5 separate regions of the Homo sapiens genome follow, and regions 2, 3, 4 and 5 are each linked to region 1. The links are contacts of gene promoters, found by promoter capture Hi-C in blood cells and fetal thymus (Javierre and others, 2016). All regions are on one chromosome and are shown on one strand. Each heading gives the region's core, a stretch centred on a gene start or on the middle of the fragment in contact. The rest is flanking DNA. Distances are from core to core; before and after follow the strand shown.

Region 1 (2,631 bases), core at 86-2,585:
CCTGTTGGTGAGCGTTTGGGGCGTTACTGGGTTTGATGACTTTGTGGAAGTCTCTCTGTGGATATGTGCAGCCCTCAGTCCATTTCTGGACATCTGCTGTGCTGTCCCTTCACTCTCCTGGGCCTCATCCCACTCTCTGGGCTGCACACACACACAAAATGGAATTGTTCTTCCTGATGTCAATTCTTGACATGTTGGGGAGGCTGACTACCCAGCCCACCACACCTGCTTCTTCCAAGTCAAAGGTTCTGGGAGGACTCCACCACCTGGTCCTCATATGCCCCAGCATCCTCACTGTCACAATCCTGGAGAGAGCTGCCAGGCCCAGCTTCAGCAGCAGCAGCAGCAAGCACTGTGACAAATCTTACAGACACTGGTCATGCTTTCCCAAGTTAGTGGCTACTGTAAGACTCCGTTAAACTTGCAGCCTCCTTCAAGCAAATACGCGTTGCATCACAGTAAGCCTTGTGTAAATTGTCTTCATCCCTGTCTTTATCTTATTTTTCCTATGTCTCTTGATCTCTAGCTCTTCACTTTAAACAATTGTTATCTTGTCTTATTTGTATGAATTAACTCAAAATCCCTTCTTAGGGGGGAAAAAGGCAGAGTATCAAATGGCTATTTTCTTAAAAAAAATTATTTATTTATTTTTTGAGGCAGAGTCTCGCTCTGTTGCCCAGGCTGGAGTGCAGTGGCGCAATCTCAGTTCACTGCAGCCTCTTCCTCCCAGGTTCAAGCGATTCTCCTGCCTCAGCCTCCTGAGTAGCTGGGACTACAGGTGTGCGCCACCACGCCCACCTACATTTTGCATCAAATGGCTAATTCTTGGCTGGGGAACACTTATGTTTGGCTTCAGAAAGGCCTGCAGTGAAATTTTATATCCAATGATCCTGCTGACAGTGTGAACCCCTAATTCCTGTGTTGAAGTCTCCAGGCTCAGCCAGTGAAGCAGCTGAGCAGCCTGTGATGTGGAGGTGCCTAGGGGCCTAGGGCAGGAGCTAGAGTGTGAAACTGGACCTGACGCCCCCAGATGCTCCTCCCCCGCCTTGCAGGCTCCGCGACCACCCACGGTTAAAGAAGCAGCTGCTAGAGCAACCCCTCACCCACCCACCGGAACTTCCCTCCAGGCCATGGGACGTTGGTCTCAGCCGGAACTTCCGTCCAGGCAGTGGGACCTTGGCCTCAGCCATAAGCATCCAAGCCGCCGTCGTTGGGAGACTGGCCTTCCCATTGGCAGGGTGCACTGTCCATCACAGATCTCAGGGCTCTCATTGGCCATCGTATGGCAGGGGTGGAGCTCACCACGCTTCGTCCGCGTGCTCCCCACGTGAAGGCACCCGCCCTGCGCGTGTGAAAGGGCGAGAGCAGCGCGAGATAGGGCCTAGCGCCTCAGATCTTCGTTGGCGGCCATGGCTTCGGCTTCTCAGGGCGCTGACGACGACGGCAGTCGTAGGAAGCCCCGCCTGGCTGCATCGTTGCAGATCAGCCCCCAGCCCCGCCCCTGGCGACCGCTACCCGCCCAGGCCCAAAGTGCCTGGGGGCCCGCGCCCGCGCCCGCGACGTATCGCGCGGAGGGCGGGTGGCCCCAGGTCTCGGTGTTGAGGGACAGTGGGCCTGGGGCAGGGGCCGGAGTCGGGGAACTGGGGGCAGCCCGGGCGTGGGAAAACTTGGGGGAACAGATGGGGAAGGCCCCGAGGGTCCCTGTGCCCCCAGCAGGGCTCAGCCTGCCGCTCAAAGACCCACCTGCCAGCCAGGCCGTGTCCTTGCTCACGGAGTACGCGGCCAGCCTGGGCATCTTCCTGCTCTTCCGGGAGGACCAGCCACCAGGTGAGGCCGGGCCGGGGCATGGCTGTGCCAGAGGGCAGAGCCACGGAGGGCTGGGTCCCAGGACGTGGGGAGCAGGGGGTCTGGGGAAGGTGGACCTTGGTCCCTATGCTCAGAGACACCGCCGGAGCAGGACCTGGCCTGAGCTTGGGACCTTGGGGTGGACCCTGCTGTGAGCAGCGATCTCCAAGGATCACCAGCCACACCAGATGCTCAACTGTGAAAGAGTCATGGCAGGTGAACATTCTTCCCACCTGACTTCCAGGGAGGTTAAGGCCCCCTGGTATTTCTGTATACGTTTTTAGAGCCACTTACATGCAATTTAAGTTGCCGTGCTAGCATTGGAGATACCGAAATGGGAGCCACTCCCCTGACTTAAAAGACATTATTAAGCACAGTTTGGTAAGGGTAATACCGTGTACATGATACAGAGGTAAACCGTTATTTCCTCTTCTTCAATACATACCCCTTAAATCCCTTAACTCAGAGTGGTTGTTTTGTGTTTTGGATTTTTTTTGAGACAGGGTCTTACTCTGTTGCCCAGACTGGAATGCGGTGGAACAAGCTTGCCTCACTGCAGCGTCCGCCTCCTGGGCTCAAGTGATACTCCCGCCTCAGCCTCCCGAGGAGCTGGGACTACAGGTGGACTCCACTACACCTGGCTAATTTTTGTATTTTTTTTGTAGAGATTATGTGGTTTTACCATGTTGCCAAGATTGTTCTTGAAGTCCTGGGCTCCAGCTATCTGACCTCCTGGGCCTCCAAAGTGCTGAGATTACAGGTGTGAGCCACCACACTTGGCCCAGA
Region 2 (2,631 bases), core at 77-2,576, 420 kb after region 1:
GTCCCAGGTGCCCACAGCAGTAACTGTAGGATTCTGTCCCAGGCGCCTACAGCCCATAAGAAGTAGAGCTGAAATTTGAACCCAGGCATTACGGGTTCTCTTCTATAAGCAAGAGACAAAGGAGTGGACAGCCAGCACGTGCTGGGAAAAGCCTATGACCCAGGATTCAGCCCATGACTTGGGCCCACTCAAGGGAGCAACACACCCATGGGGGAAAGAGATTGGCAGCCATCTAACCATGAAGGATGGGGATTCCCCGCCAAGGATACCACCACCAAAGGGACAAAGTCCCTCTCTCCAGGAGGACTTCGCCAAGGAGTTGAAGAAACAGACATGCACACGACCACCATACGGGACACCAACACCACAAAGACAAGGAGGGCATCCGAGCAGAGGGAACATTCACACCGGGCCTTGACGGGTGTGTAGGAGTCCTCCAGGAAGGCGAAACAGATGAAGACAGTGCAGGCAGAGGGAAGAGAGTCCACAGGCCTAGGGAAGCGGGAAGGCAGGCCAGCGCGGCACAGGGGAAGAGCTGAGAGCCTCGGACACAGATCTGGATTCAAAGTGCAGTTCTTCCCAACTGCAGCATCTCCAGCAAGCGACTCTGGCTCTCCAAGGAAAATGTCAGGTTCCTCCTCAGTGAAGTGGGGATAATTTCTACTTGTGGGTGTCACTCTGCTCATTACTCCCTCAGAGAGAAGATAAATTAGATAAACTAACACACGCAGAGCTCCTACGTAGGGCCTGGGACTTGGGCATCCCTAAGGTCAGCATCGTGTGTGTTGGGGACACACACTGGAGGGGTCGGCTGGCCAGCACCTGTCATAAAGGGCACCCCATGTCATGTCTGAGCGTTTGGACCTTATGGAGAAAAGGTGTTGGAAGTGGGAGGCGGGGGAGCAATCTGACCTGAAGGTTAGAAAGCCACCCCTAGCCTGGACTGCAAGCTCACTGGGGTCAGGGAAAGGACTCAACTCAGTACTTGGCAAAGGGCTTGGGGCATAGTAGATGCTCGAGAAATGTCCCGGAGAAGACAAGGTCATGATCAAGGGTGGAGCCCTAAGAAACGCCTAGACTTATCGGGCAGGAAGCAGAAGCAGCAGCAGAAGGAAGTGAGAATGACAGGAGAGAGACATAAAAGGAGAACTAGGCAAGTCTAGCCACGCAGAAGCAGAAGCACAAGCGAGGGGGACTATCTTTTCAGGAGGTGCTGGCCACTGGCAAATGCTGGAGGGAGGTAAAGTGGATCAGAGACAAAGAAATGACCACTAAATCTGGCAACTGGAATATTTACCAAAGACCTAGACATAGAGCTCCATGCTCTGGGTGTGGGTGGGCACCAGAATGAAATGGGGTAAAGAAAGGATGGGAGACAAGGAGGTATTTATAACACCTATAAAATCTGTAAGGGATGCTTTCAAAAAGTTTGCATTAACTTCTGAATATTTTCAAGGGACAAAAACCCAATTCACCTAGTGTTTAGGGAATGCTTTTTTTGAACTTGAGACACTGTACTTACCAGGAAGATACACATCTATCATCCTTCATCATTTTCTGTTTGTGGTGACACAGCCACAAACAGAAAAGAAAGCACAAACATCACCATGCAGTAGACTGAAAGAGCTACCACAAAGCCCACGCCCCTGTGGACACACAAAAAAGCTATGCAGCGTGGCTCAGGGCCTCCCAGCAACAGATCTGTGGGCAAAGAAGGCAATGGGAGACTGGATAGTGCAGAAAATTACAAAGGTAATGTTTTCGCAGCCCTTCAGGGTACCACTTAAAAACAAAAACCCAGCCGGGCGGGGTGGCTCACGCCTGTAATTCCAACACTTTGAGAGGCCAAGGCAAGTGGATCGCTTGAGCCCAGGAGTTCGAGACCTGCCTGGACAACATAGTGAAACCCTGTCTCTACAAAAGATACAAAAATGAGCCAGGCGTGGTAGCAGGCGCCTGTAGTCCCTGCTACTGGAGACGCTGAGGTAGGAGAATCGCCTGAGCTGGGAGGCAGAGGTTGCAGTGAGCCAAGATCGTGCCACTGCACTCCAGACTGGGTGACAGGGCACGACCTTGTCTCAAAAATTAAATTAAATTAAAAACCCAACATTGTTTCTGGAGCAAAGTAGGAACCCAATAAAATGTTTGTCGCATGCATTAACGGACAGACTGTTCAGCACTTTATAACTGCCCAAAGCCCTGTCACAGATTTGGAGCTTCTTTTTGATGTCACATTCCCTTAGACCTTAGGAAAGAAAGCAATTTCTCTCCTTCCCTTCTCGCCCAAATTTCTGAAACCCGGGTGTGTATGTTCAGCTAGGGAAAAAATATTCAGGTGCAAAACAGCACGATAAATAGACTGCCGGCTCTCTGTGTGTTGTATTGCCATATACGCAGAGGTCATGGACAGCAAGTGAATTTGACTCCTTCGCATTCCAGCTCCCTTCTTTTGGTCGCTATACTCCAGTTTTCCGTAGGAACCACCTCTCTGCCACTCTCAGTCTCTGTCATCCAGGTAGGGCTGATGCCACCTCCAAGAGGCATCCCCTAGGCCTGCACTAAGGCCAGTCAGTCTTCCTGGAGGCATAGCAGGCCAGAAAATGGGGCTGTGAGACAGGAGAGTGCAGAGGC
Region 3 (2,631 bases), core at 63-2,562, 310 kb after region 1:
AGGCTTGGACGCAGAGCCAGGCTGGCAACGCCACTTTTTCAAGCAGGAGAGAGGAGGTTGCATGGGAGGCCCCAGTAGGAACCCCAGGGCTGGTGCCAGTGAGGTGGGAAGGTGGGCAGCCCCTAAGAACACAGCGCTGTCCACAGCACTGCCATTCTTAGTACCTGCAGAGTGCTGGTGAAGGGACACGTCTCAGAACGGCTCAAGGACAGCCCGTCTCCTTTGAGAGCCCCGTGCCAGGCAAGATAAAGAAATGGCAATGGTGTGGTGGCTCACGCCTGTAATCCCAGCACTTTGGGAGGCCGAGGCGGGTGGATCTCCTGAGGTCGGGAGTTCGAGACTAGCTGGACCAACATGGAGAAACCCTGTCTCTACTAAAAATACAAAATTAACCGGGTGTGGTGGTGCATGCCTGTAATCCCAGCTACTTGAGAGGCTGAGGCAGGAGAATTGCTTGAACCCAGGGGGCGGAGGTTGCAATGAGCCAAGATCATGCCATTGCACTCCAGCCTGGGCAACAAGAGTGAAACTCGGTCTCAAAAAAAAAAAAGACAATGCACGCTGGTGCTGGTGCTGACAGCGCACATCAAGGTTGCTTGTACCAGTGGAGCTCGACTGGAGCAGTTTCGTCCCCCAGGGGCATTTGGCAATGACTGGAAAAGTGTGTGGTTGCCACAACTGGGGGAGGGGAGTGCCGTTGGCATCTAGCAGGCAGAGGCCAGGGATACTGCTAAAAATCCTACAGTGCACAGGATGGCCTTACGACGAGGAAGTGTCCGTCCCAGACATCGGTAGGGCTGAAGGTGAGAAAACCTGGCTTCTGAGGATGTAGGGCAGCGGAACAAAATGGAAGCGGAACTTGATACAAGGGAACCCACAGAAGTCTCGAGGCCAATGTAGGGTTGTGTTATGCACAGCTTTGCAGAGAAGAGGCCACCCCATGTACCCAGGTGTACTGTGAAAGTCCCATGACACCGAGAAAACTTGCCAGGGACTGAAAGCTTTCCATCATCAAGCCTATAATCCCAGAACTTTGGGAGGATCATTTGAGGCCAGGAGTTTGAGACCAGCCTGGGCAACATAGTGAGACTTCGTCTCTGCCAAAAATACAAACCTCAGCCGGGTGTGGTGGCGTGTGACTATAGTTCCAGCTATTCAGGAGGCTGAGGTGGGAAGATCGCTTGAACCAGGAGGCAGAGGTCGCAGTGAGCCAAGATCACAACAGTGCACTCCAGCCTGGGTGACAGAGCAAGACTCTGTCTCATAAAAACACAAACAAAAGTTCCAGCAGCCCATAATAAGTGACCAAGATGTTTTGCTTGACCAGACTTTAGTCAGGCTCCTGGGCCCATCTGTGTACCTCTTTGTAAAATCTGGTTTTAGCAAAACAAAAAACAAACAAACAAAAAAACCCACAAAACCACTCATCCTTGATATTTGATCACCATTATCTGTTCACTTGCTATCTAACCAGGTTTAATGCTTAGGTTAGGGATATCCAATCTTTCAGTTTCCCTGGGCCACACTGGAAGAACTGTCTTGGGCCACACATAAAACCCACTAACAATAACTGATAAGTGCATATATCTACATATATGGTAAAAAAAAAATCTCATGTTTTAAGAAAGCTTATGAATTTGTGTTGGATGTCATTCAAAGCCGCCTTAGGCCACATATGGCCCACGGGTTGGACGAGCTTGCCCTAGGTGATGTCTGATCACCCTGGCCTGCCTTCAGTAACAAACTGCTAGGTAAGCTTACCCAGAATCCACCCTAGCGCCCTGATGTTTCCTCAGTCATCTTCCATCCACTGATCCCCACCCTGCTTCCTGGCTTCCCACTTGCCCATGCTATAATCAGAGTTGAGCCCAATCTCTCTCCTTTACTACAAAATCCCATTGCTGTGGTCCCTATACCCATTGCAATGGTCTTCAATAATTAATGTGCTTTTAATAAGCATCATTAATTAATTTCTTTAACATAAGGTTGAGAAGATTAAATAAGGTAACCCAGGGCATTTGATCTGCTTACTGGAGGTCAGAGACAGAATAATGGGCCCAAGACAACAGAGAATGGCTCCTTGGGATCTTGTCTTAGAACAAGAGAAACTGCCCTGCTTGGAAGAAACGGAAGGTTGCTCTGCCTCCGTGATGGAGGGGTGGACAGGGACCGATTGTCTGCAGGATGGCCCCCAAGGTTCCCACTAGTATCCTAGGAATGGCTTAGTCACCTCCTGCTCAGAGCTTCTCCAACAGGCTGTTACATGGCTGCTTCCCACCCTGGCTGCCAAGCTCCAACTCTCTACTCCAAGGGCCCCGCATCCCTAGAGCCACACAAGGGTCCCTCCGTACCCCCACAAGCTGGGGAGATTCCAACTGCCTCATCTGGACAGGCTTCGAAGTCCTGTCTGTGTCTCAGAGCCCAGAGGCCCTTGTGCGAAGGGGCAGCTTGAGCCTGGGCAAGAAGTTCCTGTGGGCCAGAAGGTGACCTGTCCTGTGCTGGCCACCTACATGGCCTGGGAACAGTTATCAGCTCACTGTCCTGGAAAAGCCCAGATGGGTGTGGTCAGAATACAAGAAGGAAAACCCCCTCCACACACACTTCAGTGTCTACCCCAGACTCGCCTCCTCC
Region 4 (2,631 bases), core at 54-2,553, 280 kb after region 1:
GAAGGAAACTTCTTCAACCTGATAAAGAACATCTACAAAAAACCTATAGCTAACATCATACTTAATGATGAAAAACTGAATTCTTTCCCCACAGGATAAGGTCCAAGGGTGACCAGCCTCACCACTCCTATTCAGCACAGTATTAGAAGTCCTAGCCAGTGTAATATGGCAAGAAAAGTTAAAAGGCATTAGCAAAGAGCCTGGAAAGGAGAAAATCACAGATAACGTAATTGTCCACACAGAAAATCCCAACAAATCTTTTTAAAAAAGAAAAACCCTCGTAGAATCAACGAGTTTAGTAAAGCCACAAGATACAAGGTTAACACACAAAAAGCAGTCGTATTTCTATATATTAGCAATGAACAACTGGAAACTGAAATTTAAAATTGAATACTATTTGTCTGTCTCAAAAAAAAGTATCAATTCTCCCGAGATTGTTGTATTAGGTTTAACACAATTACCATCAAAATCCCAGGGTTTTTTTGTTTTTGTTTTTTTTTAAGACACAGATAAACTTGTTCTAACAAGCTTGGTATGATATTGTTATCAGCAGACCTATTTCAATTTCACTGGTTTTTACATAGTATCTGATGTTAGGCAAACCTGAGTTTAAGGGCACAGTGCTCCAGGTGGCTGGCCAAGTCTGCCCAGGCCTTCTGATACTGACTGCAGGTCCAAGAGTTTCCCACAACCACCTTCAGGTTGGATGATTCGTTGATGAGGCACACAGAGCTCACTGACACCTGTCATGCTCACAGCCATGTCTATTACCAGGAAAAGATACAGATTAGAACAGCCCCAGGGCTGCAACTGCAGAGACTGGTCACCCTCTCCCTCTGAGCTCAACAGTTTCTGAGTCCTGAGTCTTTCTAGCCAATCACTGGGTCTGAGAGTGGTTTCCTGCCCCCCACAACACAAGTTCTATGAAATTGTATGACACACATCAATTCAGGTAACCACTGCTACAATGAGGAGGCAAAACTTCCATCGCCCCTGAAAAACTCCTCCTTACTTTTTATAGTAACACCCTCCTAATCCCAGCAACCTCTAATCCCTTCTTCATCACCATAATGTTGTTCCTTCAATACTGTTACATAAATGGAATCATGGTATAGAACCTTTTAAGACTGGCTTTTGTCACTAAGCATAATACCTGTAAGGTCCCTTCAAGTTGTTTTATGTGTGTTCTTCTTCATGGCTGACTAGTATTCCACTGCATGGATGTACCACAATTTCTTTATCCACTCACTCATGGAGTGACAGAAACTCCTGTACAATTTTTGGAAGTCTATATGAATCTAAAATTATTTCAAAGTGTGTAAGAAGATAAGATATACTCATAGGGCAAAAATACACCAGGTAAAGACAAACAACACACAAGACCAAGGTGACACAGTCTAATCAGACAAGATTAAAAGAAAGGCCAAAAGCATTAAAGGAGACCAAGAAGGAAATTTAACAAGATATAATCACCACTGAAAAATCCATAGGCCAGACTATGTACCAACACAACATTCAAATTTAAAGAGGAAACAGTATGGGAAATTCAGGCAAAGGATACAGAAAATTCATTATATTAACTTACCACATGAAAGGACACAAAACCTCAGTGATTCCAAAGAGTAGATCTAATATAGATGACTTCTTGGTCGGGCATGGTGGCTCAGACCTGTAATCCCAGAACTTTGGGAGGCCGAGGCGGTTGGATCACTTGAGGTAAGGAGTTTGAGACCAGCCTGGGCAACATAGCGAAACCCCATCTCTACTAAAAATACAAAAATTAGCTGGGCATGGTGGTGGGCGCCTGTAATCCCAGGCTACTCGGGAGGCTGAGGCAGGAGAATCGCTTGAACCTGGGAGGCAGAGGTAGCAGTGAGCTGAGATCACACCATGGCACTCCAGCCTGGGCAATGAAGTGAGGCTCTGTCTTAAAAAAATAATAATACAGATGACATCTCTAATCACTATGCAATCTAATTTAAAGACGAGTGACAGGACTAGGGGAAATTCTCTAGCACAGCAAAATTTAAAAACTCTTGGGTACAAGAGAAAATCAAAATGAAGGCCACAGAAAATCTAGAAGCTTATGATCAACACACACCTATCTATACAATACTGCAAAATAACTCAGGGCCCAAGAAAAAAGTAATAGCTTTATGTATTCATCTACTTCCATTATTTTTTATTTAGTAAAATAACTCAAAAAACTGAAAAAAAAAAACTGAAGAAAAGCAGGAATAATATAAAAGCAAAATTAGTAACTGAATCCAATCTAGGAAAATGAAAACACAAGAAAAGGAAAAAAAACATAACTACAAAAGAGTTTCAATACTTTGGGGTCAATATTACATAAAGTAATTTGAAGACTTCCAGCAGAGATTTAAAACAATCCAATGGTAAAAGAAATGGATAAGGTTGTCAAGAGTTAATCCCATCCTCACCTACATCATCAGAAGCAGGAATGCAGACCTGCAATATGCATTTTAAGAAGCTCTCTAGGCAAATCTGATGCATGCTCAAGCGGGGAGAACTACTGGATAAAAGAGGTCAGTAAGAGGCCTGGAACGGTGGTTCATGCCTGGAATCCCAGCACTTTGGGAGGCTGTGGTGGGTGGATTGCTTGAGCTCAGG
Region 5 (2,631 bases), core at 56-2,555, 260 kb before region 1:
GACATTGCACTGGAGTAGAGGCAGGGTCTGAGAGGTGGAAGAGCTGAGGTGAGACAAGAGGTGCAGTCATTGAATTGTCTGGTCCTTCCTCTCTGATAGCAGGAGTCCAAGAGCCTCTTGCCTGACAAAGTCCAGCTTGCCATGGTGCAGGTGTAATTTATGAATCTCACTCGACTGCATTCAGTTACTCATCCAGACGGTGCCAGCCCATCCATACGATGCACAGTCATCTCTGACATCTTGCTGACCCTTAGGCACATAAAAACATAGCTGTACCCAGTTTTTTTCCAACTGTATTGTTAGACAGGACAGAGGCTAGAAAATATTTTATTAGGACCCAGAGATGGGTCCTGAGCCTGGCATCGTCACTTATGAGCTGTGTGGCCATTACTAAATTTACAATAAGTAAATGTGTCCATTTTGGCTGGGCGTGGTGGCTCATGCCTTAATCCCAGCACTTTGGGAGGCCAAAGCAGGAGGATCACTTGAGCCCAGGAGCTGGAGACCAGCCTGGGCAACATAACGAGACCCCCATCTCTACGAAAAATAAAAATAATATTAGCTAGATGTGGCAGTGAGCACCTGTAGTCCCAGCTACTTGGGAGGCTGAAGTGGGAGGATTGCTTGGGTCCAGGTGGTCGAGTCGACAGTGAGCTATGATCGTGCCACTGCACTCCAGCCTGGGTGACAGAATGAGACCCTGTCTCAAAAAAATAAGTAAATGTATTCATTTTAATGTATAAAAACAATGTAAACCAGTAAAATTAATTTTTTATGTAAAATTTTTCATCTTGGCCTTCAAATGAGGTGTTTGTTGTTAAAACGCTTCTGTGGTCATTTGGTAAACAGAGTTTGAAACTTGAGCAAGACGATTAGCAGGCTCTGCCGAACTGCGCTGCTGACGCTGCAGGCTGAGCTGCCTCCTCCCTGGCCCTCATGTTCATTCTCAGGTCGGCTGTCAGTGGCTGCTTGCAGTGGTGACAATGCTGCTGGGTGCTGCTGGCTGCAGGCACCTCTTGGAATGAGCTGTGATTTTTGTGTCTCCTTTTGCAGCTCCGACTGGAAAGCCTGCATCAACACAGAAGGACACTTGCTCCTTCTGATCTGCAAAGGCCCAGGTGCCCACAGGCCTGGCCCCGGGGCTGTTCCCACAGCTGGCATGGACGACCCTCTGAACATTTCTGATGTCATCTGCCTTATCTTCCTAGGGTCTGTGCTGTCCTTAAGCAGCAGCGCTATTCACCCTGGGATCTGGGGCAAAGTGCCGGTGTCCACATGAGGAGGGGTAGGAGGTGTCCCTGGGGGTGGGGAAGCAGTGCTGGGTGGACATCGCTGCCCAGAGGAAGCGGTGGACAGACGGGTGTGCATTTCTCCTCCCTCGCAGCGGCTGCCCATGCAAGGGCAGCTCTTAGGAGAATAACCACGGGCAGACAATGAATTATGGGCAGAAATATGGTGGTGAGGGGGTCTCACCCCTCAAGGAGGGTCCCACCCAGAGCTCCCCACAAGGCCAGCAGCCTCCTGAGCCTCATTCTCCTGGTGGAAGGCTCCGAGCTGACCAAGCCCTGACCTGATTCTGAATGTGTCGAGCGGTGGAGGAGTGTCAGTCCAGCAGGGGAGTTCCACGGAGAATTTCCTCCCTTACGGGAAATGGGATGGAGGCAGGACAAGTAGAAACCTCTGTCCCCACAGCCAGCAGGGCCGCCTGGGAGGAGGCACAGGGAGGGTACCGAGGTTGGTAGAAACCTCCATCCCCAGGGCTCCCACATCCTCACAGCCAGCAGGGCCACCTGGGAGGAGGCACAGGGAGGGCACCGAGGTTGGTAGAAACCTCCATCCCCAGGGCTCCCACATCCTCACAGCCAGCAGGGCTGCCTGGGAGGAGGCACCGGGTGGGCACCGAGGTTGGTCTGGGTTTGAGCCCTGCGCCAGCACCTGCTTGCGTGTGACCGTGGGAAAGGCACATCCTTCAGCAGTTGTTTACTGAGCACCTACCGTGTGCAGGGCCCTGTGTACCCATCATCACAGCAACCCAACCTGCCCCTTGGGCACACCTTGGCAAGATGTGCCCCTTTTCCAGGTGCTATCACCGAGGCTGCAGTTGCTCCGGAGGAGCTGCAGCAGAGGACGGGAGCGGGGCCGGCTGGGCCCTCAGGCAGAGCCACCCTGAGGCTGCCCACCACTGACCGGGCACCCCAGCAAGCCCAGGGCAGGACTTTGTGATGCGACAAACGGCCCAGCCTGGCCTCTTGTCCCCCAGCTCCCCTGTTACCACGTCGGGGGGGTGTCCCCTGGGGGAGGGCCAACCCCAGTGTGTCCACTCCTCCCCGGCCAAACTGGTCACCTCTGTCACCTCTGCTGCACCCGGCCCCTTCGTTGTCAGGTAAGGAGGGCCTGGAGCAGGGAGGGGCAGGGGCTGCTCCAGGAAGGGGTGAGGTGTGCTGGGGGGCCTGGTAGGGCCAGGCAGGAGGAGGGGCTCCTGGGCGGTGGCCCTGGAGGCAGGAGGCTCAGCTTGTGGACTCTGGGGTGCAGGTGGCCTGGGTGGGAACCTGGTGCTGTTGCTTGCCCGTCGTGTGATCTTGGGACAGTGCCATAACCTGTGAGCTGCCATCTCCCTGGCAGTAAAATGGC

The links. Contacts are between HindIII fragments. The CHiCAGO score rates a contact against its expected background, and 5 or more counts as called.
Region 2: a fragment that was not itself captured here is called in contact with the fragment with the promoter of ADAD2 in region 1 in 1 of 17 cell types (fetal thymus); the score reaches 5.9 in fetal thymus.
Region 3: a contact is called between a fragment that was not itself captured here and the fragment with the promoter of ADAD2 in region 1, in 4 of 17 cell types (erythroblasts, megakaryocytes, endothelial precursors and 1 more). The highest score is 6.0, in erythroblasts.
Region 4: a fragment that was not itself captured here is called in contact with the fragment with the promoter of ADAD2 in region 1 in 2 of 17 cell types (endothelial precursors and megakaryocytes); the score reaches 7.8 in endothelial precursors.
Region 5: a contact is called between a fragment that was not itself captured here and the fragment with the promoter of ADAD2 in region 1, in 2 of 17 cell types (neutrophils and erythroblasts). The highest score is 8.2, in neutrophils.

What each region holds. Positions count from the first base shown.
Region 1 is chr16:84,189,822-84,192,452 of GRCh38, forward strand. It overlaps ADAD2 (adenosine deaminase domain containing 2), which reads left to right and starts at 1,336. Exons shown (of 10, transcript NM_001145400.2): 1 at 1,336-1,827. The coding sequence starts at 1,410. RefSeq lists an enhancer at 1,082-1,376. The HindIII fragment of the contact is 4,803 bases long and covers 1-2,387 here.
Region 2 is chr16:84,606,825-84,609,455 of GRCh38, forward strand. All of the region lies in intron 2 of COTL1 (coactosin like F-actin binding protein 1), which reads right to left. Among named protein-coding and RNA genes, the nearest start is that of COTL1, 9.9 kb to the right of the region's middle. RefSeq lists an enhancer at 145-194. The HindIII fragment of the contact is 4,371 bases long and covers 1-2,631 here.
Region 3 is chr16:84,501,607-84,504,237 of GRCh38, forward strand. The region is part of intron 1 of MEAK7 (MTOR associated protein MEAK7); the gene reads right to left. Among named protein-coding and RNA genes, the nearest start is that of MEAK7, 1.7 kb to the right of the region's middle. RefSeq lists an enhancer at 2,463-2,631. The HindIII fragment of the contact is 627 bases long and covers 1,000-1,626 here.
Region 4 is chr16:84,466,701-84,469,331 of GRCh38, forward strand. It overlaps ATP2C2-AS1 (ATP2C2 antisense RNA 1), which reads right to left and starts at 661. Exons shown (of 3, transcript NR_146503.1): 1 at 604-661. The HindIII fragment of the contact is 1,555 bases long and covers 527-2,081 here.
Region 5 is chr16:83,929,036-83,931,666 of GRCh38, forward strand. It overlaps LOC105371372 (a long non-coding RNA gene), which reads right to left and starts at 2,174. Exons shown (of 2, transcript XR_007065147.1): 1 at 1,571-2,174; 2 at 1-1,068. The HindIII fragment of the contact is 4,069 bases long and covers 1-2,631 here.